Linked DNA regions of Homo sapiens: all the other regions are linked to region 1. Evidence: promoter capture Hi-C in 16 types of primary human blood cells and fetal thymus (Javierre and others, 2016). All regions are on one chromosome and are shown on one strand. Each heading gives the region's core, a stretch centred on a gene start or on the middle of the fragment in contact. The rest is flanking DNA. Distances are from core to core; before and after follow the strand shown.

Region 1 (4,009 bases), core at 1,042-3,541:
TATAGACCCCTATTTAGTTGAATAAATGTTAACATTTGCTATATTTGCTGTGTGTTTATGTGTTTACTTTTCTTGCTGAATCATTTGAAAGGTAGTTGCAATTATCATGACACTTGACCCATAAATATTTCAGCAGGCATCCCTTGAGAATTAGAACATTCTCTACATAACTGCAATACCATGATCACAACTAATAATAATTAATCATTATTTCCTAATATCACCTAATATCCAATTGTAGAAGTTGCTGGTGGTGCTCTACTCACACATCCTTGGCCTACCCAGAAGTTACCTGCAAAGAGTTCCCATATAGCCAGTGACTTCCTGAGCATCTTTTCCTGGACATGTTGGCCAGCTTGAGAGAGTACACTTTGCCCTCACAGGGCAGGCTGAAAGTGCCAGAGAGTCAACACCTTGAGAGTGTCCCTCAGCCGGAGATGGAGAGAAGTTGCTTCCTTCCCTATCAGTAGTTGATTCTGAGGTATGCTGCACAGAATACAACTTGTCCAAAGCTCCAGGGATATAGTTGCTCACGGTAGTAATCTTTAACACATTCTTTACTAGTTTCCTCCCTTCCCTATCTTACTTCCTTACTATGCTTCCTGAGATCACTTTTTTTTTTTTTTTTTTTTGAGGAAGGGTCTCACTCTCTCGCCCAGATTGGAATGCAGTGGTCCAATCTTGGCTCAACACAACCTCCACCTCCCAGCCTCAAGGGATTCTTCCACCTCAGCCTCCCAAGTAGCTGGGATTACAGGCGCCCGCCACCATGCCTGGCTAATTTTTCTATTTTTAGTAGAGACGGGGTTTCATCACATTGGCCAGGCTGGTCTCGAACTCCTGACCTCAAATGATCCACCCTCCTCGGCCTCCCAAAGTGCTGGGATTAAGGGAGTGAGCCACTCACCGTGCCCGGCCGAGATCACCTTTAAATAAACTATTGGCACTCAAAGCTCTGTCTCAGGGTCTATTTTGGAGGCACCAAGAACCAAAACATCACTCCATTGCTAAATTCATTTTAAAATGACAATCTTGGATCCCTGGAGAGGCAAACTCAAAACCTGTTTGGGTGGTGCTTGCAACCCAGCCAACAGGAGCTGCTCTTAGCTCTGATTTTTGCTTGAACAATGCTATAGTGAGGTTGTGTTGATTTAGGATGCCCTGCTCAGCCTATATTAATAATAATAGTAATAAGAGCTACTGTTTACCAAGAGCTTACTGTGCGGCAGATTCACATGCTTCATTTCATTTAATCCTCACAGTGACTCCGTAGGGAGGGTACTATTACTATTTCCATTGTATTGATGAAGATCCTGAGGCTCATGGAGGTTAAATAACTTTTCAAAGTTACATAGCTAGTAAGAGGCAGATTGCTGGTGTGCTTCAGCAGTGTGTTAAAATGTGTAGATAACTATAAATATTCTTCTGTTATATTTTTGTGTAAATGGGAACAATAGTACTTGGCAGATAAAATTTGCATCGTTAACAATACCATAAACATAGTGTAATGCAAGGATCTCCCAATCAGGTGAGAGCCTCAAGAGGATAAAACTGTTCCCTAGGCCAAGGTGGGCAGATTGCTTAAGGCCGGGAGTTAGAGACCAGCCTAGGAAACATGGCGAAATTTCATCTCTACCAAAAATATATATATTAACAAAGTTTAGCTGGGCATGGTGACTCACGCCAGTAGTCCTAGCTCCTTGGGAGGCTGGGAGCAGAGGTTCAGTCAGCCACAATTGTGCCATTGCATTCCAATCTGGGTGACAGAGTGAAACCCTGCCTCAAAAAACAAAACAAACAACAACAACAAAAAAACGGCTCCCTGCCATGCCTGGCTTGGTACAGCTTATGCACTGGGCTTGGGTTACTAGTGGTAACTAAGACTTTTCCAGCATTATTTAAGTTGTGTAGAATCTTCCAATGTTTTGACCTCTGTTAAAGTCAAACTTCTCTTTGGACTCGTCCCTTCACAATCCCCAGGCTAGATGATCAAAACGCAGCCATCTTACTTAAATATGACAATATTCAGTGAGATGCGCTACAGATTTTTGCACAAGTTCAAGCTTTCTTGGAACAACACATCCCTGTTAGTAATATCCGGCCCCACCTAGTAACCGAGGTAGACATAGAAACTTAGATCTTAAGAAGATGTCTTTCCCAATTACTATCTTCTCTAAGACTCCATAAAGAAAAACAGACTTTGAACCCAAGTTATCTTATTTATTTGACCCTGCTGTCATAAAGCGTTCAAATTCAAGTATTATAAAGGATTGTAACAGGGAAAGCATTTAGGGTTTTCAGGCAGAGGAACAGTTGGCCAAGGAAGTCAGCTTCTCAGAGCTCAAGAGGTAAGTGGTAAGACTGTCTTATATAGAAAGTAGAGAGTCATACAGATTAAAAACAAGCCAAGTGAGGGGAATACATTTTGAAAAGTTGCTGTCTCGGTGGAGTGGAGGGAAAGAGAAGACATAGATTTGTCCCCTTAATAGGGCTGGGTGAGGTCTGGCAAGAAGCCTGCACTCTCAGTTTTTATTGAGTACTTGTAGTGCAGAGCGCTTGAGAAAACTCTACTATTGACCACATTCTGCAGTAATCACTGTTACAACACTGTGATAGAAATCTTTTTGGCAAATATTTAAAATTACAAAAGAATCAATATTAGTAGTAATTGCATCTTACGAAAAGATTGATGCAGGCTTGTCTGCCAGAAAGGGTGAGCCTGGCATGAATGAAACTTACTCCTGTCAGGGCACGCCTGGGACAGGGGAGGAGTAGAGTAGGTATAGGTATATTTCAGCTCTTGTAAATTAATACTGGTGTTAAGGGGAGAGAACTCCCAGTGGCCAGGGACTGGAAAAGATTAACAGCAGCTTTTTTTTATTTTTTTATTTTTTATTTTTATTTTTTGAGACCGAGCCTCACTCTGTCGCCCAGGCTGGAGTGCAGTGGCATAATCTTGGCTCACTGCAACCTCCACCTCCCAGGTTCAAGCAATTCTCCTGCCTCAGCCTCCCGAGTAGCTGGGATTACAGGCGCTCGCCACCATGCCTGGCTAATTTTTTTTTTTTTTTTTTGCATTTTTAGTAGAGATGGGGTTTCACTATGTTGGTCAGGCTAGTCTCAAACTCCTGACCTCAGGTAATCCACCTGCCTCAGCTCCTAAAGTGCTGGGATTACAGGCATGAGCCACTGCACCCAGCCTAACAGCAGCTTCTTAAAGGAAAAGAATATTAATCTAGGCAGTAGATTGGGTAGTAGGGTGGTTGAGAGTAGGGTGGTTAAGAGCATGGTCTTGGGAGTCTGGGTTCAAATCCCGACCTTGACATTTACTGTCTGTGGGATCTCAGGCAAATTACATAGTCTCTTTAAATCTATAGAAACGACCTCAGGAGGGTTGTTAGGAGGCTTAATTGTGACTGAAATGATGTATGTAAAGTGTTTAGCACAGTCCCTGTTGCGCAGAAAGTTTTCCGTATGTGGTTCGCTATATTTATAGTAGTACTCTTGAAAGGAAGTAATGAATATATGTTTTTTTCCCAGATGGAAATGGAGAATATCTTAGGGAGAGGGAGAGTTGAAGCAAAAGCAAGAAGGGAGAAAGGACACCTTTATTATTTATTATTTTTAGTCCATTGGGTCAAGGGGAAGAGAGAGAGAGAATAGTGGGAGAAAGACAAGATTAACATGGTTTAAACTAGAGGCCATGTTTCAATTGAGGCTTTTCTACGTACACACCATTTGAATCTATGGGATTTGGAGTAGTCTCAAAAACTCTCTATTATCAGAGAACATCTTTACAAAAATGACCCAAGAAAAACTTTCAGAACAAGAATTACTTTGTTCAGTAGGGACTGTCTGAGAATGAGACAAGTTTCATTCTGCTAAAATGAAATTCTATCAGTTTCTCTAGGGAAGACTGGTTTCATCTTCCCCAGGGCACCCTGACGCTGCTCTATCTGTCATAGCCTATTTCCTGTGGTTTTATGTTGCTTTTAAAAAAAATTTCTTA
Region 2 (4,009 bases), core at 844-3,343, 240 kb after region 1:
GCACCTGTAATCCCAGCTACTCGAGAGGCTGAGGCAGGAGAATTGCTTGAACCCAGGAGGTGGAGGTTGCAGTGAGCCGAGATAGCGCCATCGCACTCCAGCCTGGGCAACAAGAGTGAAACTCCGTCTCAAAAAAAAGATGATGGTTACCCTTGGGGTGGGTGGGGTGAAGGGATGATGAGGAAGGGTACAAAGGAGAGCTTTTGGGATTCCATAAATGCTCTATTTCTTGATCTAGGTCTGGTTACGTGAACGTGTTCCACTCAGTAAAAATTCTTGCATTTGTACCCTTATGATTTATGCAATTATGATTTGTACAGTTAAATTTGTTTAGGCGATTCTTCAATTTAAAAGGTGCTTTTTAAAAAAAAACTTACAAATTTACACTTATCCCAACTTCCAAAGTCACTTGAAAATTCCAACTCTGGATGAAAGAACAAGATAACCGCCTTCAGGATGTCACGCACTAGTTTCACGTTGGCTTCCAACTCCATAGATTTGCTGTCTTGAGGAGAATTTGGCTCTGTTACAAGAGTATGGTCATAGAGCAACAGTGACACAAATTCCATGGAATTGAGTAGTTGGATGCTTTCCTGTAGCTCGAGCAGCATGATTCGGAAGAAGAGAATTCCTGCCCGCTGGACTTCCCTGACATTTTCAATCTCTGGAATAACAAAATGATAGCTCACATTGCTGTTCAGTCTAATGTACATTGCTGTACATTACTTTTTCATAGGATTCTGAACATATTATAGTAAATGTTTTTGTCAAGAAAAAGCAGACCATAGCCTTTGGTTTTAAACAATCTCAGTTTCTTTAGCCATGAAATCAAAAGAAAGCAATGAAATTACTCCCGGTGAAGCTCATAGGAAGAGGCTTTGAGAAAAGGCAAAAACTTGGGTTTTAGAGTTAGACCCTGGTTTGAACACACGCTGTCACCCTTATTAGTCTATTGTCTCTCTGAATATCCTTTTCCTCTTCTGTGAAAATGGGCTTAATCCCTACTTCCTTGGTTAGCTGTGAGAATTAGAGAAGATGATATATGTAAAAGTGCTTAGTTACAGGCGTTACACATAGTGAACACTTAGGAGACATGAAATTTCTCCTTTCTTCTTATCCCACTCTATGACATAGTTACAAATCTTTTGGCTCAATCCCACATAGTGTTACTCTGCTAATTCTATTCACTTCATTCTAGGAAGCCAAAGGTTTCCAGGCCTTCTTCCTCCCTCCCTCTCTCCAGCTGGCATTGCGCTGAGAGTAGCCTAGTGGATGTGGAATCACAAAAACTAAAGTCTAATCCTGGCTCTCCCACCAGCTTGCTATTGGACCTTAGATAATCCACTTTACTTTTGCAGTCTTTAGCATCTTTATCTGTAAAACGAGATGTTCTGATTACTTAATGCTGTATAACATAGTGGGAAGAGCACCCAAATCTAGGTTCAAATCCAGCCCTCACCATTTCTTAACTGTGTGACTGGGGGCAATTTGCTTACTTTCCTCACCTGTAAGTGGGGTATCACTATTCATCTCATAGGGTTATGGCAAGGATTGAATGAAATAATATCTGAAGCACATAATGGGGGTATTTAATACATGCTAGTTCTAGCTTGCCTTTATGAGCCCTTCCAGCTCTAAAACTGTAGGAATCTAACCATGAGAATGTGATTCCAGGCTGTTTCCTTTAATTTGTAGACATTACTCGTCAGCGCAAGACTGCATAAGGGAATTCCTTTTATATGAAAAGATGTGTATGTTGTAACAATTCATTTTAGAAAGTGCATATTTCATTGCACTCCCTGTGATTTCCCCAAAACCTATTAAACCTGTGAATTTAGACTGATGCCACATGAACGATACCTAAGATATATTTTTTCTTTATCTCTCCAGAGAACTCGCCAAGTATTTCATAGCAGGCCACTTGGACCACTTTCATCATTTTCTGTAGATCTTTATATTCTTGACACAACAACATCCTATTTTGGCCGATGTTAAAATCGAGGACTCCCAGAGCCTCTCCTGTTCTCTCACGAAGTGGAACTACTATATGCGTTTCTCCACAGGCAGAAGCCAGAACAACTTCTGAACTGTCAGTACATTTAAAGAGGAAATCTCTGAAATCAAAACCAAATAAGCACAAGGATATTAAACATCTGTCTGTTCACATCATTCCACCAAAACATATTGAATTACTCTCTTGTGCCTACCTCACTTCCACCATGCCAGCCCTTCTTGCTGTTTCATCTGCCTGGAGCATTCTAGCCCTTGATTTCACATGGCTGTCTGTTTGCTCACTCATGTCTCTGCTCAAACATCCCCTCGGCAGAGAAGGCGTCCCTGACCACCCAATCTCAAGCAGCGCCCAAGCCACTCTCCATCATGATACTTTGCTTCGTTGTCTTGGCTTATCTGAAGGTGTTCATTTTTTGTTTACCTATTGTCCATTATGCTTTGGTGGAGTGCCAGCAGAAATGATGAGTGTGTTAGGTCGGGTTCCCTAGAAGCAGAGCCTGAGACAGGGATGCTTATGCAAGTGATTTACTGAGCGAGTGTTCGCTGGAGAAACCTGTGAGGGACTGAATGAAGCAGGACAGGCAAGGGGAAGAAGCTAAGTAAGAATGTAATTTCACATGAAGTCTAGCCTCGGCCTGATCCCAAGGGGAGCTCTGAAAGGTCAATTGTACCAAAGAATCTGTCCCACCTTGAGGCAAAGGGAGGGGTTTTTTGCATCCTAGCACTAGTCAGTCATTGGCTCTAAGCTGCCCTGGGTGTGTGTGGGCAGTTTGGGCTGGGGGAGTGTTTACCCATCTCTTAGGTAACTCCTGGTGAAGAGCTCCAATCGCTCAAGGGCGCTCCTCCAGAGAAAGTTACGGTGTGAGCCAGGCCGTGCCTACAGCAGCTGGTAAAAGGCATTTTGGGGATCTGGGTAGAGCATCTATAGCATCTGCCTCAGTGAGAGACTTGAGATTTTCATGGAAATGTGGTGGCTGCTTCTTTCTCTTGGTGAGGCACAGACACACCTCTTTTTCTTTCTTTTCCCTTTCCCCATCTACATTAATTCTGATATGCCATTTCTTTAAGGTATTTGTAAAAAATTGGTACTTTGCATCCTCGAAAAGCGCATTTATAGTTTCTATATCAATCCTACAGTGACAGGTAAGATGATGTCCTTCTGCTATTCCCACCCCTTTTGCTGCTGCTGAGCCACCACTTTGTGTTGTGTCTCGATGAGTGCCATAGTAATAATGCATCATACTAGGCTTTCCAGGAATAACAATAGAGCCCATTGGTCAACTGACTTCCTCCAAAGACATCTGTTCTAAGTTACACACAAGAATCCAGGGCTATGCATGTTCCCACTCATAGGTGGGAATTGAACAATGAGAACACTTGGACACAGGGTGGGGAACATCACACACCGGGGCCTGTCGTGGGGTGGAGGGAAGGGGGAGGGATAGCATTAGTAGATATACCTAATGTAAATGACAAGTTAACGGGCGCAGCACACCAACATGGCACATGTATACATATGTAACAAACCTGCACGTTATGCACATGTACCCTAGAACTTAAAGTATAATTTAAAAAATACATAAAAAAAAAGAATCCAGGGCTATGAGTCTGGGTATTACAAGGACTTCTGTAAAACTTTTGACCAGCACAAGGAATAACTATGTGGAAAAGAGCTTGAGATTGAACCAACATTCTGGCATGAGGCCAAACTAAAATTTAATTGACATATGTAATTAAATGTTGAGTTAGCCTACTGGTCTGGGATTACTGAGTTACCGCCTACTCAACGACAGTGACCCCCTAAGAAGCAGTCATTCCCTTTTGCAATAGGTGTGTTCTCAGTTAAGATCTGTTTACATTTGTACACATTTTAGTAGTATTCCTTGCATTTGACAAGTGAGAGTCATTCTAAGTAATTTAGAACCGAGTACTTATTAAATACAACATGCTTTGCCTTCTCTCCAACTCTGCATGTCTTCTTTAAATAAAAAAGACA
Region 3 (4,009 bases), core at 515-3,014, 220 kb after region 1:
TCAGTTTTAGCTTCATGTATTTTGAAGCTCTGTTATTAGGTTTAAGATTGTAATGTCTTCTTAATTGACTTTTCATTATCAAATAACCTTTATCATTATAATATTCTTTGCTCTGAAATCTACTTGTGTGATATTATAGCACTCCAGTTTTCTTTTGACATTAACTCTAGGGAAAGCAAAAGGATGTACAGGAATGGAAAATAATTGTAATTTACAACATGGCTAAGCTGTAAATAGCATACATAATCATGATAATATAAACACTGAATATTGATCTATTCTGATTACATTACCATGTAATAATATTGGGAAGAATGGATGGGAAGCGTGTGTGTATATATGCTGAGGAAGGAGCTAAATCTTTGTATTGTATACTGGGAGATTAATAGATATTGCCTAAATCGGAAAAACAAAAGTAGCCACACAAGCATGTAATTTAACAATATAGAGGTAAATGTCAAAACCACAGCTAAAATAGGGGTTGGCAAACTTTTTCTGCAGTCAGATAGCAAATAGTTTAGTCCATGTGACCCATATGGTTTTTGTGGCCACTACTCAACTCTGCCCTGGTAATGTGAAAGCAGCCACAGACATGGGCATAGCTATTCCAATAAAACTTTATTTACCATACCAGGCAGCTGGCCAGATTTGGCCAATGGGCTGTTTACCAACTCCTGAGCAAAAAGAATTGAAAGTAGCTGACTCAGAAGCAAGGAAAATAAAGGTAAGGTGGGGCTGGGAAATGCTGTGGTCTCAACAGACCTTGTATAACAGAATGACTTTTTATGAGTATGTGTTACTTTGCTTAAAATAAAGAGTAAAAAATAAAGCCCCCTGCCAGGGCTGCCTGCCTCTTGCTTGAATAGACTGAATGGGGAATTAGTTACCCATAATTACCCAGGGGAGAACTCAATATCCTACATAATTTGAGTTTTTCAATTGTTATATTCTGTATTCTTCCATTGCCTTTGGGACATTTTAATGAAGCAGTCATGGGATTTTCCCTAGGCTAGAAGGGACAGTTTCTCAGATGCAGTGTTGTAGAGTCTGCAGCAGTGGTGGTAACTGCAGCAGTGAGTAAGGGCACAGAGAAGCCTCTTAACATTTTAGAACCCAACTTTTGAAACTTTAACAAGAAATGCTGTAAGGACAAGCTGGGTAAACCAGTAAAAGATAGTATCATCACTACCATCCTCATGGATGTTATACAACAGAAATTTCCAATCATCTTAAACTTCCAGAACAGAACAGTTGACTAAATTGGATCCATTACCGAAACCCTTGGATCTTCCACTTAATCTTTTGACACTAGTGTTACTAATGTTAACTTCACTACTTTCAGTTTCTTCTCTTTGCACCCAATCTTTTCCCCAACCAACTACTCACACCTTTTCTCTACCTATAGTTTCTGCTAACTTGTAGCATCTTGAAGGCAGTATGCACCAACTTCCTTCAAGGCCTGTCATGACACCTTTGGCCTCTCTAAGCACTTAATTTCCTTTTATTTTTTAAATTTTTATTATTTTTTATTTATTTATTTACTTATTTATTTTTGGAGATGGAGTATCATTCTGTTGCCCAGACCGGAGTGCAGTGGTGTGATCTCAGCTCACTGCAACCTCTACCTCCCAGGTTCAAGCAATTCTTCTGCCTCAGCCTCCCGAGTAGCTGGGATTACAGGCATGCACCACCACGCCCGGCTACTTTTGTATATTTAGTAGAGACAGGGTTTCACCATATTGGCCAGGCTGGTCTCAAACTCCTGACCTGGTGATCCACCCGCCTCGGCCTCCCAAATTGCTGGCATTACAGGTGTGAGCCACCGCACCCGGCCTTAATTTCCTTTTAGACACTGCTCCCATTGCTGTTTCCCAGTTTGGCTTGTCCATGGTTTGGGTGCTTTTTATATTAGGCCATTTCACAAATTGGTCTCACTTTGGTAAGGGGTCACCCCTAATTCAAACAACTGTAGCTACAGAGTCAGTCACGTAATGGCCACCCAGGGTTGCCTCATCACTTGAAGTCCCTGGGCAGGACAGTCTAAGCTCAGACAGTAGATGGAGGAGAGGTTAAATACGGTTAATGACTAGGAAATGGTACACCTACTGAGGGTAGTAACCAAGTTTAAGGGCAGAGAAATTAGGCAATATTTATTTATTTATAAATTTAACAAATTTGACCAAGAAAAAGATTATGGAACTGGACAGCATTCTAGACCAAAGATGGTTCACAATGGCCCTTCTTGCAAAGTGGTGAGCTATATTTATAACCAGAAAACAGGTGAAATAGGTAATATTTAATTCACTGATCTTGTCAGTTGAGAGAGGTTTTTTAATTAAAATTTTTATTTTTGCTTTAAAAAATTTGTTTAACTTTTAGGTTCGGGGTACATGTGCAAGTTTGTTATATAGGTAAACTTGTGTCATGGGGGTTCACTGTACAGATTATTTCATCACCCAGGTATGAAGTCTAGTATCCAATAGTTACTTTTTCTGATCCTGAGAGAGGTCTTTGTAACAAGATTCTGTGGAAGGAGAGTAAGAATATGGCATTGATGATGTGGGGTGAGGTTTTTGGGACTGGCATTGCATAAAACCTCATATATGAGAGGAATGCACAATTCTTTTTTTTTTTTTTTTTTTTCAAGACGGAGTTTCGCTCTTGTTGCCCAGGCTGGAGTGCAATGGCGCGATCTCAGCTCACCGCAACCTCCACCTCCCGGGTTCAAGTGATTCTCCTGCCTCAGCCTCCCGAGTAGCTGGTATTACAGGCATGTGCCACCATGCCCGGCTAATTTTGTATTTTTAGCAGAGACGGGTTTTCTCCATGTTGGTCAGGCTGGTCTCCAACTCCTGACCTCGGTTGATCCGCCCGCCTCAGCCTCCCAAAGTGCTGGGATTACAGGCATGAGCCACTGTGCCTGGCCTGCACAATTCTTAAATTACCTTCAAATGGTCTTCTGAGTTAGAAGATTGAGAATGTCTAGAAGTTCAGGGCATCTGGTCGCTTAAGCATATTTAGATTAAGAGGGAATTGGCTGGGTGCACTGGCTCACGCCTGTAATCTCAGCACTTTGGGAGGCTGAGGGGGCCAATCACTTGAGGCCAGGAGTTCAAGACCAGCCTGGCCAACATGGTGAAACTTGTCTCTACTAAAAATACAAAAATTAGCCAGGTGTGATGGTGTGTGCCTGTCATCCCAGCTACTTGGGAGGCTGAGGTACAAGAATCACTTGAACCCGGGAGGTAGAGGTTGCAGTGAGCCAACATTGCACCACTGCACTCCAGCCTGGGTGACAGAGTGAGGCTCTGTCTCAAAAAAAAAAAAAAAAAAAAAAAGAGGGAATAGGAGGCCAATTACAAAAGACCACATGTTGTATACAAAATGTCCAGATGGGCAAATCGGTAGAGAAAAAAAATTAGCGGTTGCCTAGGGCTGGGGGTAGGGGAAAGTGGGGAGTGACTGCTAATGGGTATGTGGTTTCTTATTGGGATGATCAAAATTTTCAGCGGGCGCGATGGCTCACGCCTGTAATCCCAGCACTTTGGTAGGCCAAGGTGGGCGGATCACGAGGTCAGGAGCTCGAGATCAGCCTGGCAAACATAGCGAAAACCCGTCTTTACTAAAAATACAAAAGATTAGCCGAGCTTGGTGGCCGGCGCCTGTAATCCCAGCTACTTAGGAGGCTGAGGCAGGAGAATCGCTTGAACCCAGGAGGCTTGAACCCAGGAGGTTGCAGTGACCCAAGATGCACCACAGCACTCCAGCCTGGGCAACAGAGCAAGGCTCTGTCTCAAAAAAAAAAAAAAAAAAAAAAAAAATCTAAAGTTGATTGTGGTAAGGGTAGTACAACTCTGTGAATATACAAAAAAAAAAAAAGTAATTCTACGCTATAATGGGTAACTTTTATGGTATGTGGATATGTTAGTAAAGCTGTTTAAAAAGGCAATTGGAGCTTTTTTGAGACTCCATTGTCATTATCTTGATACTTCATGTTGTTCCTGAGCCA
Region 4 (4,009 bases), core at 900-3,399, 200 kb after region 1:
TCAGCTCACTGCAAGCTCTGCCTCCCTGGTTCATGCCATTCTCCTGCCTCAGCCTCCGGAGTAGCTGGGACTACAGGCGCCCGCCACCATGCCCGGCTAATTTTTTGTATTTTTAGTAGAGACGGGGTTTCACCATGTTAGCCAGGATGGTCTTGATCTCCTGACCTTGTGATCCGCCCGCCTCGGCCTCCCAAAGTGCTGGGATTACAAGCGTGAGCCACCGCGCCTGGCCTTGCACTGGTTTCTTTATATAGAATCTACTCATGGTGACGACGTGAGCATTGTTGAAATGACAACAAAGAATTTAGATTATTACATAAACTTAGTTGATAAAACAGCAGCAGGATTTGAGAGGACTGACTCCAATTTTTAAAGTTCTACTGTGGGTAAATGCTATCAAACAGCATCACATGTTACCGAGAAATAATTCATTAAAGGAAGAGTCGATCAATGCAGCAAACTTCATTTTTGTCTTAAGAAATTGCTACGGCCACCCAGCCTTCAGCAAACATCACCTGATCAGTCAGCAGCCATTAACATTGAGACAAAACCCTCCACCAGCAAAAAGATTATTGCTGGCTAAAGGCTCACATGATCATTAGCATTTTTTAGCATAAAGTATTTTAAAATTATGGTATAGGCATTTTTTTAGCTATAATGCTATTACACACTTTAAAAACTACAGCATAGCATAAACATAACTTTTATATACACTAGGAAACAAAAAACTTACATGACTTGCTTTACTGAGATATTTACTTTATTGCAGTGGTCTGGAACCATACCCACAATATCAGTGAGGTATACCTGTGTATCTTTGAACTATCATTTCCATCTCTTCCTCTCTCTCTTCCCTGTCAAACTCTTCAAAATAAGATTACTAATTAAATTTTAAAAGTTACTATTCAGATGAGAGGACAATAAAAGACAGAGAAACTGTAGAGCTAAAGAAAATATATTGAAGACTAAAATAACACCAATAGAGCTAATAAATTAGAAACAGTAAGAAACAGAAAAGCTATAACTGAAACACTGACAAAAGTTTAATCTTAGTAGAGAGAAAAAGACATAGACTGAGTAATTTCCCTAAATACCTGTTTAATTTTCCTTATCCTGCTCTACTTTTTCACAGCTCTGTAATCTTCTAAATTCACATGTAACTTACTTATCTGTTATGTTAATTACTTATCACCCCCCACCACCACCACCTTGAGAATATAAGTGCCATAAAGGCAGTGGCTTTTGTTATGTTTCACTGGCACAGGGCAAGTGATCAATAAATATCTGTTGAATGCATTAATAAATGCATGACGATGATATGAAAGACAAAGATGATCCTCCAAAATGATAACCCAGCACATGGATGACAGTAAATTTCAATGAAATGAAGAAAAAGCTAAATATTTAGAGAAAAAGAAACAGTGTATTCCTGGAAAAAACAATTCAACATTATTTGCAGCAAGACACATTGAGTTAAAAAGGCTATATACTCTCCAGTAGTCCAAGCCAATTAAAAAAAGTCTAGAAGTAGGGATAAAAGAAACTATAGTGTTGTACTTCCTCATAAGAACATTAAGTACCAGAAAAAATCACTAATGTCTGTAAGATTTTGAAATAAATTGTTATTGTAGAAATATTACACCCAATCAAGTAGATATTTAAGTGACAAAAGCAATGGGCAAGCATTATTTAACAATCAAAAACTTAAGAAATAATGCCCCAATGAGCACATGTTGAAAAACTATGAAATTAAGTCAAAGACCTCAGAAATGGAAAACAATGGTTAAAAAGACTAGTGGACGCTGGGCATAGTGGCTCACACTTCTAATCCCAGTACTTTGAGAGGCTGAGGCAGGAGGATCATTTGAAGCCAGGGGCTCCAGAACAGCCTGGGCAACATAGTGAGACTCTGTCTCAACAAAAAAATAAAAAAAAATTAGGCAGGCATGGTAGTGCATGACTGTAGTCTCAGCTACTTGGGAGGCTGAGGTGGGAGAATTGCTTGAGCCCAGGAGGTTGAGGCTACAGTGAGCTGTGACAGAGCCACTGCACTCTAGCCTGGACAACAGTGAGTCCCTGTCTCAAAATGAAATATTTTAAAAAAGAAAAAGAAAAATAAGGAGGACAGAATTTTCTTGCCATCTCCCCACTTCTAATAGAATTGTCTTAGTTCCATCCTTTTCCTTTTCTCTCTTCTTGCTTTTTCACTCTTAGCCAGTATGTTAAGGATGAAATTTTAGCAAATTGCAAAATTACTTTAAATCCCTCACTGTTTGATATACTCGGTACCATAAATTTACTAGTAATTCAGTTTAATAGCATATGAGAAAAGTTCACAAATTCTCAGCCATCATTAAAATAACCTAAATTTCCCAACATTTTCACAATATGCTTTGTCTTATCTATGTACAACTGTCTTTTTATTTGAACTATACTAGACTATATCTACAGAAGTAAGGCATTATCTGATTAAAACTGATGAAAAACCACAACTAAAACATTTTATTGATTTGGATGTACTATAATGTTCAGACAGATTAAAATTTTAACTTTTTCTTACCAATAGTAAGCCAAACAGGCTTCCAGCTAAAATAAGATTAATTTTTCATTAGGAAAACCAAACCTTCAACTTACTTTTTCAAGAAAATTTTTAAAAAGATTAAAGAGGAGAAATATCAAGAAATAGTGAAAGGAATGGAAGTGTATACACTTATGTAATCCTGTAACTTGCTAATGCTTCTTACTTTGGGAATACACAATTATGGTTATCTTTTTTTTTTTAAGCACTCACTTCCTTGTATTCGTCAAAATTATAACAAAATAATAATATGATTTTGAAAAAAAACTCACACTACCATGCTAAAAAGTAATCATTTTCATTTATTATTTTTTACTTATCTGTGCACCTATAGCATTGTACAACCCTAAGTATTCAATTTTGTATCCTTATTTCATCTACCTCATGCTTTTAAAATGTCCCAATATTTTCTCTCCTAGTCTTCTATCAGATAAAATGTGTTATATCTTTTTACATTTTAATATGATTTGGAAACTAAATACACTATGGGAAATCCTTAAAATTCACCATAATTTTTCTTAAAAAATAGTTGAAAATACAGAAAAGTATAAAAAAAAAAATCATGCCAGGCGTGGTGGCTCACACCTGTAATCCCAGCACTTGGGGACACCAAAGCAGGAGGATCACTTGAGGCCTGGAGTTCAAAATGAGCCTGGGCAATATAGCGAGACCCCCATCTCTACAAATTAAAAAAAAAAAAACAAAAAAACCACTCATTGTCTGCCATACAAAGATAACTACCATTAATATGAAATGCTTTATTGTCTTTTTTCCTTTTATCTATAACAAATTTGTATATATTTTTTCACTAAATGTTATTTCATGATGAATGTGATAGCCGTAGTATTGCACACACTTTACTTACTCATGCTTTCACTGTTGAAAGCTGGACTGGTCTTAAATTTTTACGATCATAAAGAGACCCAAGATAAATGCTTTTGAATACCTAAAAATATATTATATCAATTTCTGACAATTCCAAGACAAAATTTTAGAAAAGAAAATATTGGCAAGGTTTCTGTCTCCTGACTGATAATATTGGGTAAACAATAGTCAACTTTTAAAAGATTTATACTAATTTTTGGAATTGCTTTCCAGAAAAGGTCCATCTGCTTCCAAAAATGTGCATTAATTTATAACAAAAATTCGAGTGCAATTTCACAAAGATCTTGCCATTTCATTTTTAAAAAGTATTTGGCTAATATGATGGCAAAAAATGGTAGCTCACTATTGTCCTAAGTTTACATTTCTTATAGTAAAATTGAGTATTTTTAATGTTCATTAGATATTTCTATTTTTTCTATATTTGTCTCTAAATGTGTTTTCCTCTTTTTTTTCTGCTAGGGTTTTAATGTTTCCCTTATAATTTCTATAAATGCTTAACCTATAAAAGGAATATACTATGGCTTCTGAGTAATTTTATATATATAA
Region 5 (4,009 bases), core at 1,272-3,771, 190 kb after region 1:
ATCAACAAAATATAGATGAACAAAATCAAAGGCTAGTTATTTCAAAAGATTTTATAAGATAGACAAACTTTTGGCAAGATTAATCAAGAAAAGTAAAGAGATGCAAGTAACAGTAGATGAAAGATTTAAAAAACACTATCGTGAACAATTAAATCTGAAAACCTGGGCAGAACAGATACATATTCCAAAAACTGTAAATCAGCCAATCCACAGCCCAAACTTAGAACCATCTCCTCTGGCCCCTACAAGCCAGGAAGCAATAGTCCTCTGCCTTCATTGCCCAGGGCCAGATACAAAAAAACTGGTGATCACCGCTACAGCCCAGAGGCAACTGACAAGATTCAAACTAGCCAATCCTAAACTGTTTCCCTTCCTTTCCCATGAAAAATACAATAAAGACTCTGAACCAGGCTTTTCCTGATCCAAACTGGTTCTTCCCTATGTAGCCCTGAATGAAATGGCATGTCTTCTCCTGTCAGTAAATGTACATAACAATAATCTTCTTTTAAAGGGCATTAGTCTCAATATGTCATTTGTCACCTCCATAAATTAAAATCCTACAGACATTTTTAGACAATAAACAAAGCCTTTCCCACTTATAGACATAGATGTTTGAAAACCCTAAATCAAGTTTTAGTGAATTGAGTTTACTAGCATATTAAAAATAATACATCCTGCTCAAAAGGATTTAAGCCAGAAATTCAAGAATGGTTTAACATTTAAAAATGTATCAATCTAATAAACCATATTAATGAACCACAGGAGAAAAATGACTTAACTAGCTCAATAAATTCAGGAAGGCATTTAGTACCTATTTGTGATTTATAAAAAATTGTCAGGCTAGGCACAGTGACTCACGCCTGTAATCCTAACACTTTGGGAGGCTGAGGCGGGCTGATTACTTGAGGTCAGGAGTTCGCAAGATGAGCCTGGCCAACATGGGGAAACCCCAACTCTACCAAAAATACAAAAAATTAGCTGGGCATGGTAGCACATGCCTGCAATCCCAGCTACTCGGGAGGCTGGGACAGGAGAATTGCTTGAACCCGGGAAGCAGAGGTTGCAGGGAGCTGAGGTTGCGCCATTGCACTCCAGCCAGGGGGACAAGAGCGAAACTCCGTCTCAAAAAAAAAAAAAAAGTTGGTCAGTGATGAATAGAAGAGTTCCTTAACTTAAAAAAGTCTGGCCGGGGCTGGGCGCACTGGCTCACACCTGTAATCCCAGCACTTTAGGAGGCTGAGGCGGGCAGATCACGACATCAGGAGATTGAGACCATCATGGCTAACATGGTGAAACCCCGTCTCTACTAAAAATATAAAAAATTAGCCGGGCGTGGTGGCGGGCGCCTGTAGTCCCAGCTACTCAGGAGGCTGAGGCAGGAGAATGGCGTGAACCTGGGAGGCGGGGCTTGCAGTGAGCCGAGATTGGCCACTGCGCTCCAGCCTGGGCAACAGAGCGAGACTCCATCTCAAACAAAACAAAACAAAACAAACAAAACCAACCAACCAAACAAACAAAAGTCTGGCCGAGTGCAGTGGCTCACACCTGTAATCCCAGCACTTTAGGAGGCCAAGGTGGGCAGATCTCCTGAGGTCAGGAGTTCAAGACCAGCCTAGCCAACATGGTGAAACCCCGTGTCTACTAAAAATACAAAAATTAGCTGGGGCATGGTGGCGGAGGCCTGTAATCCCAGCTACTTGGGAGGCTGAGGCAGCATAATCACTTGAACCCAGGAGGTGGAGGCTGCAGTGAGCCGAGATCGCACCATTGCATTCCATCCTGGGCAATAAGAGCAAAATTCCGTCTCAAAAAAAAAAAAAGAAAAGAAAAGAAAAAGAAAAAGTCTATATACCAAAAGCCAATAACAAAAATCAAACTTAATGGAAAAACTTCAGAAGCTTAGGATATCACTTAGGATAGACAGGTCAGAATGCCCACTAAGGACATTTTTCAACATACTACTGAAAACTTGTCTAATAAAGTAAAACAGGAAAAAGAGGTATAAGGACTAGAAGAGATGAAGCAGATGGTTTAAACAAACTATTACAGTAAATCTGATTAGGCTCAGGTGTGGTGGCTTGCGCCTGTAATCCCAACACCTTGTGAGGCCCAGGTGGGCAGACTGCTTGAGGCCAGCCTGGCCAACAGGGCAAAACTCCATCTCTACTAAAAATACAAAAATTAGCTGGGCATGGTGCTGCACGCCTCTAAATCCCAGCTACTCGGGAGGCAGAGGTGGCAGTGAGCCAAGATTGCGCCACTGTACTCCAGCCTGGGGGACAGAGCAAGACTCTTAAAAATATATATATTCCTGAAAATATGGTACCACTCACAATAGCTACAAAATGTAGGAAGTATCTAGAAATTAAACTGCAGATAAGGCACAGGACATTAATGGGGTAAAAAATTACCTCATAAAGTCTAGGAGGGGTGTGGTGGCTCACACCTGTAATCCCAACACTTTGGGAGGCCAATGTGGGAGGACTACTTGAGCCCAGGAGTTTGAGACCAGCATGGGCAAGATAGCAAGACCCTGTTTCTATTTAAAATTTAAAAAGTCTAAATGAAGGAAGAACTATACCACACTTACATGTAGTTCCTTAAAGACTAATATAACTTATAAATCCAAGGCAGTTCTAATACAAATCTCAGAAGAGTTTTAATTTTGAAGGAATTTCACAAACTTTATCTATATAACAATAAAAGTCCACAAATAGTTTGATCAAGTTTGAAAAAGAAGTGTAGAGTAGGGGGCTCACTCAACTAGATATACTAAGCTACAATAATTTAAAAAACGATATTTTGGCCAAGCACAGTGGCTCACACATGTAATCCCAGCACTTTGAAAGGCCAAGGAAAGAGAACTGCTTGAGGCTAGGAGTTCGAGATCAGCATCAGTAACACGGCAGAACTCCAACTTTACAAAAATACAAAAATTAGCTGGGCATGGTGGCATGCACCTGCAGTCCTAGCTACTCGGAAGACAAAAGTGGGGGAATTGCTTGAGCCCCGTACATCGAGGCTGCAGTGAGCCATGGTCATGCCTCTGCACTCAAGCCTGAGGAACAGTGTGGGTCCTTGTCTAAAACAAAACAAACTATGTTTTGGCACAGCAACATATAAAAATAAAACAGGAAAGCTTAGCAGCAGATTCACGGATATACGGAAATACAACATAATGAAGATGACCCACAAATCAGGAAAAAATGTATCCACTATTTGTGGATGGTACTGTAAAAATTGTCTCCAAAAAAAAAAGTAAATAAATAAACGGCTGATGAGAAAAACAACAGTGGCCACCAATGAAAATGTAAACTGATAAAGCCATTTCAGAAAGTGATTTATCAGTACTTAGTGAAATAATTTTTTTTGAGATGGAGTCTCGCTCTGTTGCCAGGATGGAGTGCAGTGGCGTGATCTCGGCTCGCTGCAACCTCCACCTCCCGGATTCAAGCGATTCTCCTGCCTCAGTCTCCCAAGTAGCTGGGACTACAGGAGCACGCCACCACGTCCAGCTAATTTTTGTATATTTAGTAGAGATGGGGTTTCACCATGTTGGCCAGAATGGTCTCAACCTCTTGACCTCGTGATCCGCCCACCTTGGCCTCCCAAAGTGCTGGGATTAGAGAGGTGTGAGCCACTGCGCCCGGCCTTAGTGCAATAATTTATATACATACCCTATGATCTAGAAATCCCACCCCTGAATATATATCCCCATAAAAACTTTCACAAGGGTTTCTACTGGGACATGTATGAGAATTTTTTAAAATAATATCACTGTGGTAGCAGGGAACTGAAGGTAACTTAAGTGTTTATCTCAGAAGGAATGGGATAGATAAAATACAGTAGACGTATATGCTGTAGTTAAAAACAATTAACTAGGTATACATACTGTAACACAGTGTTGACTAAAAAAATGAGATAATGCAGTAACATTTATGTTTACAAAATCATATGTACTCAAAACAAAATATAATTTAAAAGTATACACAGATATCCAGGTAGCACA
Region 6 (4,009 bases), core at 732-3,231, 170 kb after region 1:
AACACAGAATTAAAAGGCATGGAAAGGTACAAATAGCCTATAGCATAAATCTGATTTAAACTTTATAATATTGAACGGTGTCCTATGTTGCTATTATTGGAAATTCACCAACTGAGATGATTCCTCTGAAAACGTAAAGCTGAGGTATGATTCCATCTACTAGAGTAACATAAGTATTATTATAACTGTACATGTACTGTTGACCATTAGAGTGGAAAGTCACATAAAATGAAAACACAGAATGTTATTAACATTAAAGGAAAAACGAGTCTATTTAGTATTTGATATTTTAAGTACTGTTTCTACATCTACTCCATAGTATCAATGAAAAACAGATTCCTTCAGATACATTGTAGTCATATCATGAATGGGAAAATATTTTTCTTTTTAACAAATATCTTAAATACATATATTTATGTGTGAGAAAAAAAACTACTACAATTAAAAGCAGATCAGTAAGATCTTATTTTTTTTTTTAAGACAGAGTCTCACTCTGTTGCCCAGACTGGAGTGCAGTGGTGCGATCTCGGCTCACTGCAACCTCCGCCTCCCGGGTTCAAGAGATTCTCCTGCCTCAGCCTCCTGAGTAGCTGGGAATACAGGCGCACACCACCATGCCCAGCTAATTTTTGTATTTTTAGTAGAGACAAGGTTTCATCATGTTGGTCAGGCTGGTCTCGAACTCCTGACCTCATGATCCACCTGCCTTGGCCTCCCAAAGTGCTGGGATTACAGATGTGAGCCACCGTGCCCGGCCAGATCTTATGTTTTTAAAGGTCAAGTCTTTTTACGTTTTTAGTGGTATCCTTAAAATACTAATACAGTATACATACACAACAGAATAGTATTTGGCCATAAAAAGAATGAAATCGTATCATTTACAGCAACATGGAAGGAACTGGAGGTCATTACCTTAAGTAAAATAAGCCACACACAAAAAGATAAATATCGTATGTTCTCACTTCCATGTGGGAGCTAAAATAAAAACTTTGATCACATGGAGGTAGAGTGAAAAGGTAGATAACAGACTGGGAAGGGTAAGTGAGGGAAATGGGGAGGATAAAGAGAAGCTGGTTAAAGGGTACAAACATACAGTAAGATAGAAGGAATATATTCAGTGTTTGACAGAAGAGTAAGGTGACTATCCTTTTTGTTTGTTTGAGATGGAGTCTTGCTCTGCTGCCCAGGTTGGAGTGCAGTGGTGTGATTTCAGCTCACTGAAACCTCTGCCTCCCGGGTTCAAGCGATTCTCCTGCCTCAGCCTCCCGAGTAGCTGGGATTACAAGTGTGCGCCACCATGCGTGGCTAATTTTTTTTGTATTTTTAGTAGAGATGGGGTTCTGCCATGATGGCTAGGCTGGTCTCGAACTCCTGGCCTCAAGTGATCTGCCTACCTCGGCCTCCCAAAGTGCTAGGATTATAGGCATGAGCCACTGCACCTGGCCAGGGTGACTACCCTTAACAAAAACGTATTGTACTTGGGTAACAGACACTAATTGCTGACTGACTTGATCACTAAGCATTGCATTCATATAACAAAATCTCACAGGTATCCCATAAACTTGTATAAAATTTTTTCAAATACTAACACAAATTTTAAGAGAACTTTTAATTTAGTCTGGTTTTCATAAAAAGAAAGGATACTCAAGAAGGTAAATATCACAAAAGCAGATCCTCTTGCCATAAATCAGGGAAGGGTTGATCTTATTGAACTCAGCAAGAGAAAAAATAGATTTCATAAGTGCCCTGTGAATAAAACAAAACTTATATAATAACTGCAAAGATTATTAATCTCTAACTTCAGTGTTCCTATACTGTACAGCATGAGGAGAACTTACAAAATAACGTTCACAAGTGTAGACTCAGAAACAGTCTACAACTGTTCTCTCTCTTGCTAGCTTGTTATTCTAGGTATGTTAATTTCTTCCTGTTTCAGTTTCCTCCTCTATATATTAGTACCTACCTCACAAAGGTTAGCTACCATTTTTGTTATTATCATGTTCCTGTTTAAAAATATATGGCTGAAGAAATGCTTATATTTAAACAAATCAAAACTAAGTTATGAGAACACAGTAGCTGTACTTTTTTTTTTCTTGGATTATTCACCAGAAAAGCATGCAAACAATATTCCTCTTTATAGTATATTTATCAGTGTGCTTAATAAAATGTAAGGTTGGTATTTATTTGAAGTGACATTAATATATTTCCATCCACTGAATTAGAAAAATCTATTCTGCTGAATATTTAAAAGGCTGTATATGTTTTCTTTTGTGTTGATTCTTTAAGGTTTTATATTCAGTATGTCCATAAACAGGAAAATGGAGGATGCATACATTTGAATCCTTAATTAGCCATGGGAGCTATAGCGTAACTAGAAATGGGTTTTCTAGAACTGATAGTGGCTTTAGTAGGAACTAATTCATAAACAAAAATACACTGCCCCCAAAACATGAGTAGACTAGGGAGTATTCTCCTTTGAGGGTATCCTCTGCTGTGCTGCTATAATCAAATGGCAAGATACAAGGACACACCAAATGAACAGACGTTTGTCTCTAATAATTGTCCTGGTTTGGGGTGAGAAGGGGAAGTGCTTGTTTTAAAAAGCGTATTTTTAAACTTCAAAGAAATGTACAGTTAAGTACTGTGTACCCTTTACCTAACCTCTCCCAATGTTAGTAAGTTGCATAGAGTACAATATCAACACCAGGGAACTGACACTGGTACACCCACACTGCTTATTCAGATTTCACCATTTTTACACATACACATCTGTGCATGTATGTGCATAGTCCTATGCCATTTTATAACACAGAGCTTCAAGTAACTATCACCGTAATCAAGATACTTAATTGTACTAGTCACCACAATACTTCTTGCACTACTCCTTTATAAGCCATACTCATCCTTCCTCCTCCATCTCTAATCCCTGGCAACCATTATCTCTGTGTTTGATGAATGTTAAATAAATTGAATTATGCAGTATATCGTTTTGAGATTGGCTCTTTTCTACCAGCATTACTTTCAAGGGTATTTTGTATTTTGCTTAGTATAAATATCGCAAAAACATTTCGTTCTTGCCACAAAATATATTAGCTTACAAGTTATCTAGGGAAAAACAGCTGTTTAAAAAAAGATTAAGGCTGAATGTGACCAAACCACACAATAAAGTCATTGACTCATTTCAAAATTAGTAGGTAGACAATTATTTTAATTCTATGCCTGAGGACCAGTTTGCAGTGTAACACAGGAGAATATTCCTTAAAACTGGCTTCTTTTCTCTTTTTTTTTGAGACAGGGTCTTGCTCTGTTGTCCAGGCTGGAGCGCAGTGACATGAAGACAGCACACTGCAGCCTCGACCTCCCGGGCTCAAGCAATCCTCCTGCCTCAGCATCTGGAGTAGCTGGAACTACAGATGTGTGTCACCACATCCAGCTAATTTTTTTATTTTTTTGTAGAGACAGGGTCTTGCTTTGTTGCCCAGGCTGGTCTCAAACCCCTGGGCTCAAGCAATCCTCCCGCCTTTGCCTCCTAAAGTGCTGGGATTATAGGCATAAGCCACCATGCTCAGCCAATGGTGCCTTCTAATAAAATCGTTAGTTTTAAATTTAGGGAGACAAAATTTACTTCCTATAAGGCACTTTATCTCGAAGGAAAAAAAATCAACTTATAAACAAATAGGTTCAAATGCAAACATTAGAACTGTTCTAAAAGTACAAAAAACACACTAATATTTCAAGATAGGTTCTTTATCAAAATCTCAGGAAAATACCTTTTCAAAAACCTGAAGCAGTAGCTCCTTCCAAATGTTTTAACTTAATTCAGTAAACATGCTGACAGCCTAATATGTGTACAGCACTTAGGCTAGGTGCTACAAAAAGATTATAATCTAGTAGGAAAGCAGCCATATTTGGTCAACATTTAAATTTATGTCTTAAGAGTTAGTAGGTTCCAGTTAGCTTTAATTCCAAATAAGAAAGGAACCCACAAAAAAGGGAAGAAAGTGACTGG
Region 7 (4,009 bases), core at 694-3,193, 150 kb before region 1:
TAGACATCAAATCCTGATCCTCATGGCCTTAGGTTTTTATTTAGAAGGGGAGTTAGGCTGAAGTAATTCTACAAAGCCAGTTTCAGTTTGTGGTAGAATTTCTTGGGAAATGTTTTCAAGATAGTTTTTCCTTTAGAGGAATAACAAAAGTATTAGTTCATGAAGCACACAGAACATAGAAAATGCATAGAAAGAACATTCTTCATTCTCTTTACTTGCTAAATAAAGCCAAGCCCAAAGCAATGCAATCTATTTGATGTGTTAGTAATTTATTTTTAGATCCTAGAGTCAATGTTGGCCTTGCTGCCTTTACAACCAAGGAGTCCTTATGAAAAAGAAATAGTAATTTGGCTATAGTGTTGAAATCAGCTTTTTGTTCAAATGTATACACTATAGTAGGGTTTAGAGTGTGGGCTCTGGAGATAGATCTAGATTCAAATCTAAGCTCAGATTTCATTGTTTTTATTAGCTGACAAATATCCTACTCACTTCTAATCTTTGAAAAAGTATGTAAAATAAGTGTGGATTAACAACAACTCTGCTACCAGCAATTTCACCGCTAGGTATATAGAAACATTCTGCGTAAAAATGTTCCCAGCAGCATTTATAGAAAGCTCTTACCTAACATATAATGAACACTCTTATGTCAGCTATCAAAATTATTATTAATTAGCAAAAATTAGAAACAATGGCCATCATCAAATGGTTAAACTGTGATAGTCATAAAATACTACATATGAATTACAAATGAATATACCAGAGTTAAATGAATCCATAGCTGAATCTCAAAAATGTTAAAGAAAAAGTTGTAGAATAACTATATTATATATATACTATATAACATAATAGAATACTATGAATTGCTCAGGAATATAAACATGCAGTAAGAATATATGTGGATTATGGGGTGGGAGAAAGTGGGGTGCCATAAGGGGCTTCAGTGGAATGAGTAATTATCATTTTTTAAAAATGGGAGATAGGGTCATGGGGGTTCATGATATTATTCTTTGTAACTGTCTTAAATATTGCCTAATTAAAAAATTTTTTTTTATTTCTATTTTTTTTAGAGACAGGGTTTCACCATGTTGCCCAGGCTAGTCTTGAACTCCTGGGCTCAAGTGATCCATCCGCCTCAACCTCCTAAAGTCCCGGGATTACACGCGTCATCTACTGTGCCTGGCTACTCCCAATATTTTCTTGAAACAAGTGGATGACTTACAGAGAGCATAAGCTTCAAAGATAAGAATGTATTTTCCATACATTTAATATGGTAATACACTAGTTTCCCAAAAAAGTACCAAAATTAAAGATAGCTTTGATAATTAATAACAAGGATACACAGTGCATTAGATACCCTCTAATACAATAAACACCAGAAAAGCAGTATGTATACCTGGCACCTGGGTAGATCCACAGGTCCATTTAGCAATTGAAAAACACAAGAAATACATGCCACACGGGCAAATCAGCCACCTTTTCCCTACACTGGCTGAATTAGACACTTATATTTTTGATACAAACTTATTCTGAAGTTCTAGCAGGTTTCTTCTGACACTGTAACAATCTTTGCCTAAGGATTCCAAATAAATGCTAGTCTCGAGAATTCAGAAGAATTTTAATAAGTCACTAAAAAATAAAACAATGAATGGCAAAACAAAACACCAAAAATTCACCAATAGACCAACTTACAGAAGTTATATATTTTAGTTTATTTTTTAATGCTTTAAAAACACAGTTAAGGCATAGGAGACAGAATCTGGTAGTACCTATACCTGTCGCGTCTTCCATCTCGGGTACTGCTATGACTGTAACTTGTACATAGTTTGCTGAAGGAAACTAGTTTCAGGTCAAGTTCATTTTCCAGCTGTCGAGCCTGTTTCCTGAGATCTTTAACAAAATTATAACAACAAATAATTAGACATAAAAAGTAGACACAAAAATCACAGCACCATTCTAAAGAAAACAAACTATGAAAATGATCATATACTGATCTTGTTACCCCCATAAAGAAAAGTGTTGGCTGGGCACGGTGGTGCACGCCTGTAATCCCACCACTTTGGGAGGCCAAGGTGGGCGGATCACCTGAGGTCGGGAGTTTGAGACCAGCCTGATCAACATGGAGAAACCCTATCTCTACTAAAAATAGAAAATTAGCCAGGTGTGGTGGCGCACGCCTGTAATCCCAGCTACTCGGAAGGCTGAGGCAGGAGAATCGCTTGAACGCAGGAGGCAGAGGTTGCGGTGAGCCAAGATTGCGCCATCGTACTCCAGCCTGGGTAACAAGAACAAAACTATGTCTCAAAAAAAGGAAAATAAAAGTCTTAAAAGAAGGAAACCAAGGACTTGCCCAGCAAAGCAGATTAGTCACTTATAAACTTCAGAGGGGGCAAGAAGGGAAATAGTAATGGTAGATGCAACTTCGCAGCTTTACTCCAAAGATGGCTAGAAAACAAATGTTGTTCTATCCTTCCTGAAACTATTTGTATAGCAATAACTAAAATTCTGCAATTCAGAGAAAAACAAGAAGATAATACAAATCACAAAGGAACTAAAAATATGGTTTATGACCAGCATTATCAACTTACCAGTTAATGTTATAAGAAAGAAGCCATTATTCTTTTGAAAGGGATTTTGCTTTTTATGTTCCAAAGCTTTATTAGGCTTATGAACTTCTTTTCATAATAGCAAAATGACTTACCTTTTTTTTTCTTTTTTTTTTTGAGATGGAGTCTCGTTCTGTCACCCAGGCTGGAGTGCAGTGGCATGACCTTGGCTCACTGCATACTCCACCTCCTGGGTTCAAGCAACTCTCATGCCTCAACTACCTCCCAAGTAGCTGGGACTACAGGCACACACCACCATGCCTGGCTAATTTTTGTATTTTTAGTAAAGACGGGGTTTCACCATGTTGGCCAGGGTGGTCTTTAACTCCTGACCTCAAGTGATCCACCCACCTTGGCCTCCCAAAGTGCTAGGATTACAGGTGTGAGCCACCACGCCCGGACCAAAATGACTTCTCAATTGAACATAAAGAAAAAAAGTTACCACAAAAATTGCCTTTTTCTTTCTTTTTTTCTTTTCTGTTTTTTCTCACAATGTTGCCCAGGCTGCTCTCGAACTCCTAAACTCCAGTGACCCTCCTGCCTGGGCCTCCAAAAGTGCTAGAATTACAGGCATGAGACATCGCACCTGGCCAAAAACCGCCTTTAAAAAACTTACTGAGGCCAGGCGCAGTGGCTCACGCCTGTAATCCCAGCACTTTGGGAGGCCGAGGCAGGCGGATCATGAGGTCAGGAGATCAAGACCATCCTAGCTAACACGGTGAAACCCTGTCTCTATTAAAAATACAAAAAATTAGCCAGGCGTGGTGGTGGGCGCCTGTAGTCCCAGCTACTCAGGAGGCTGAGGCAGGAGAATGGCGTGAACCTGGAAGGCACTGGAAGGCAGAGTTTGCAGTGAGTGGAGATTGAGCCACTGCACTCCAGCCTGGGCGACAGTGCGAGACTCCATCTAAAAAAAAGAAAAAAACTTACTGAAAGTAATTTGGAGGGCTAAAACTAACAATAAACAATGTGCTACTAACAAGGTCGAATATGAGTATGATAGAAATAAGTACATAAGTTTTAATAGCAGAAGCAAACAGGCAAGTAGAGAAATTGGTTTAGCAGTCTGGCATCTAAGGGTTGCGTGACAGAAGCCACAGTCTGGACACCCACACACAGATACGAGTATTCTCATTCATGGTGAAGTGAAGGTTAAAATAAAAGGGCAGAAGTACCAGAGGTAATGGTATAAGAATCTCTCTTTCAAAAAGAATACAAAACATTATTTCAATATGCTTTTCAACCAGAAATAGAAAGCGTAGTTAACATAGTGGAGCATATTTGCCCAGAGACCAAATGCCAGTTCGAATCTCGGCACAGCCACTTACTGACTCTATGATTTATCAACAATCTACTTAACCTATGAACTTCAGCTTCTTGTTTTTTAAACCCCTACCTTCAGGGTT

The links. Contacts are between HindIII fragments. The CHiCAGO score rates a contact against its expected background, and 5 or more counts as called.
Region 2: a contact is called between a fragment that was not itself captured here and the fragment with the promoter of TMIGD1 in region 1, in 6 of 17 cell types (M2 macrophages, activated CD4 T cells, total CD8 T cells and 3 more). The highest score is 8.0, in M2 macrophages.
Region 3: a contact is called between a fragment that was not itself captured here and the fragment with the promoter of TMIGD1 in region 1, in 13 of 17 cell types (activated CD4 T cells, naive CD4 T cells, megakaryocytes and 10 more). The highest score is 15.4, in activated CD4 T cells.
Region 4: a contact is called between a fragment that was not itself captured here and the fragment with the promoter of TMIGD1 in region 1, in 11 of 17 cell types (naive CD4 T cells, naive CD8 T cells, total CD4 T cells and 8 more). The highest score is 20.4, in naive CD4 T cells.
Region 5: a fragment that was not itself captured here is called in contact with the fragment with the promoter of TMIGD1 in region 1 in 7 of 17 cell types (M1 macrophages, M2 macrophages, activated CD4 T cells and 4 more); the score reaches 7.4 in M1 macrophages.
Region 6: a contact is called between a fragment that was not itself captured here and the fragment with the promoter of TMIGD1 in region 1, in 2 of 17 cell types (M1 macrophages and M2 macrophages). The highest score is 5.8, in M1 macrophages.
Region 7: a contact is called between a fragment that was not itself captured here and the fragment with the promoter of TMIGD1 in region 1, in 1 of 17 cell types (M2 macrophages). The highest score is 5.1, in M2 macrophages.

The regions. Positions count from the first base shown.
Region 1 is chr17:30,332,339-30,336,347 of GRCh38, reverse strand. TMIGD1 (transmembrane and immunoglobulin domain containing 1) reads left to right here and starts at 2,291. Exons shown (of 7, transcript NM_206832.3): 1 at 2,291-2,348. The HindIII fragment of the contact is 5,890 bases long and covers 2,066-4,009 here.
Region 2 is chr17:30,088,526-30,092,534 of GRCh38, reverse strand. EFCAB5 (EF-hand calcium binding domain 5) reads right to left here. Exons shown (of 23, transcript NM_198529.4): 20 at 1,861-2,114; 21 at 378-664. Among named protein-coding and RNA genes, the nearest start is that of NSRP1, 26 kb to the left of the region's middle. The HindIII fragment of the contact is 6,877 bases long and covers 1-4,009 here.
Region 3 is chr17:30,110,032-30,114,040 of GRCh38, reverse strand. No RefSeq gene overlaps it. Among named protein-coding and RNA genes, the nearest start is that of NSRP1, 4.8 kb to the left of the region's middle. The HindIII fragment of the contact is 5,096 bases long and covers 1-4,009 here.
Region 4 is chr17:30,128,190-30,132,198 of GRCh38, reverse strand. The region is part of intron 2 of NSRP1 (nuclear speckle splicing regulatory protein 1); the gene reads right to left. Among named protein-coding and RNA genes, the nearest start is that of MIR3184, 13 kb to the right of the region's middle. The HindIII fragment of the contact is 7,104 bases long and covers 1-4,009 here.
Region 5 is chr17:30,144,944-30,148,952 of GRCh38, reverse strand. The region is part of intron 2 of NSRP1 (nuclear speckle splicing regulatory protein 1); the gene reads right to left. Among named protein-coding and RNA genes, the nearest start is that of MIR3184, 30 kb to the right of the region's middle. The HindIII fragment of the contact is 1,241 bases long and covers 1,901-3,141 here.
Region 6 is chr17:30,164,077-30,168,085 of GRCh38, reverse strand. All of the region lies in intron 2 of NSRP1 (nuclear speckle splicing regulatory protein 1), which reads right to left. Among named protein-coding and RNA genes, the nearest start is that of MIR3184, 49 kb to the right of the region's middle. The HindIII fragment of the contact is 5,370 bases long and covers 1-4,009 here.
Region 7 is chr17:30,479,021-30,483,029 of GRCh38, reverse strand. It overlaps GOSR1 (golgi SNAP receptor complex member 1), which reads right to left. Exons shown (of 9, transcript NM_001007025.2): 2 at 1,773-1,887. Among named protein-coding and RNA genes, the nearest start is that of GOSR1, 3.6 kb to the right of the region's middle. The HindIII fragment of the contact is 1,420 bases long and covers 1,234-2,653 here.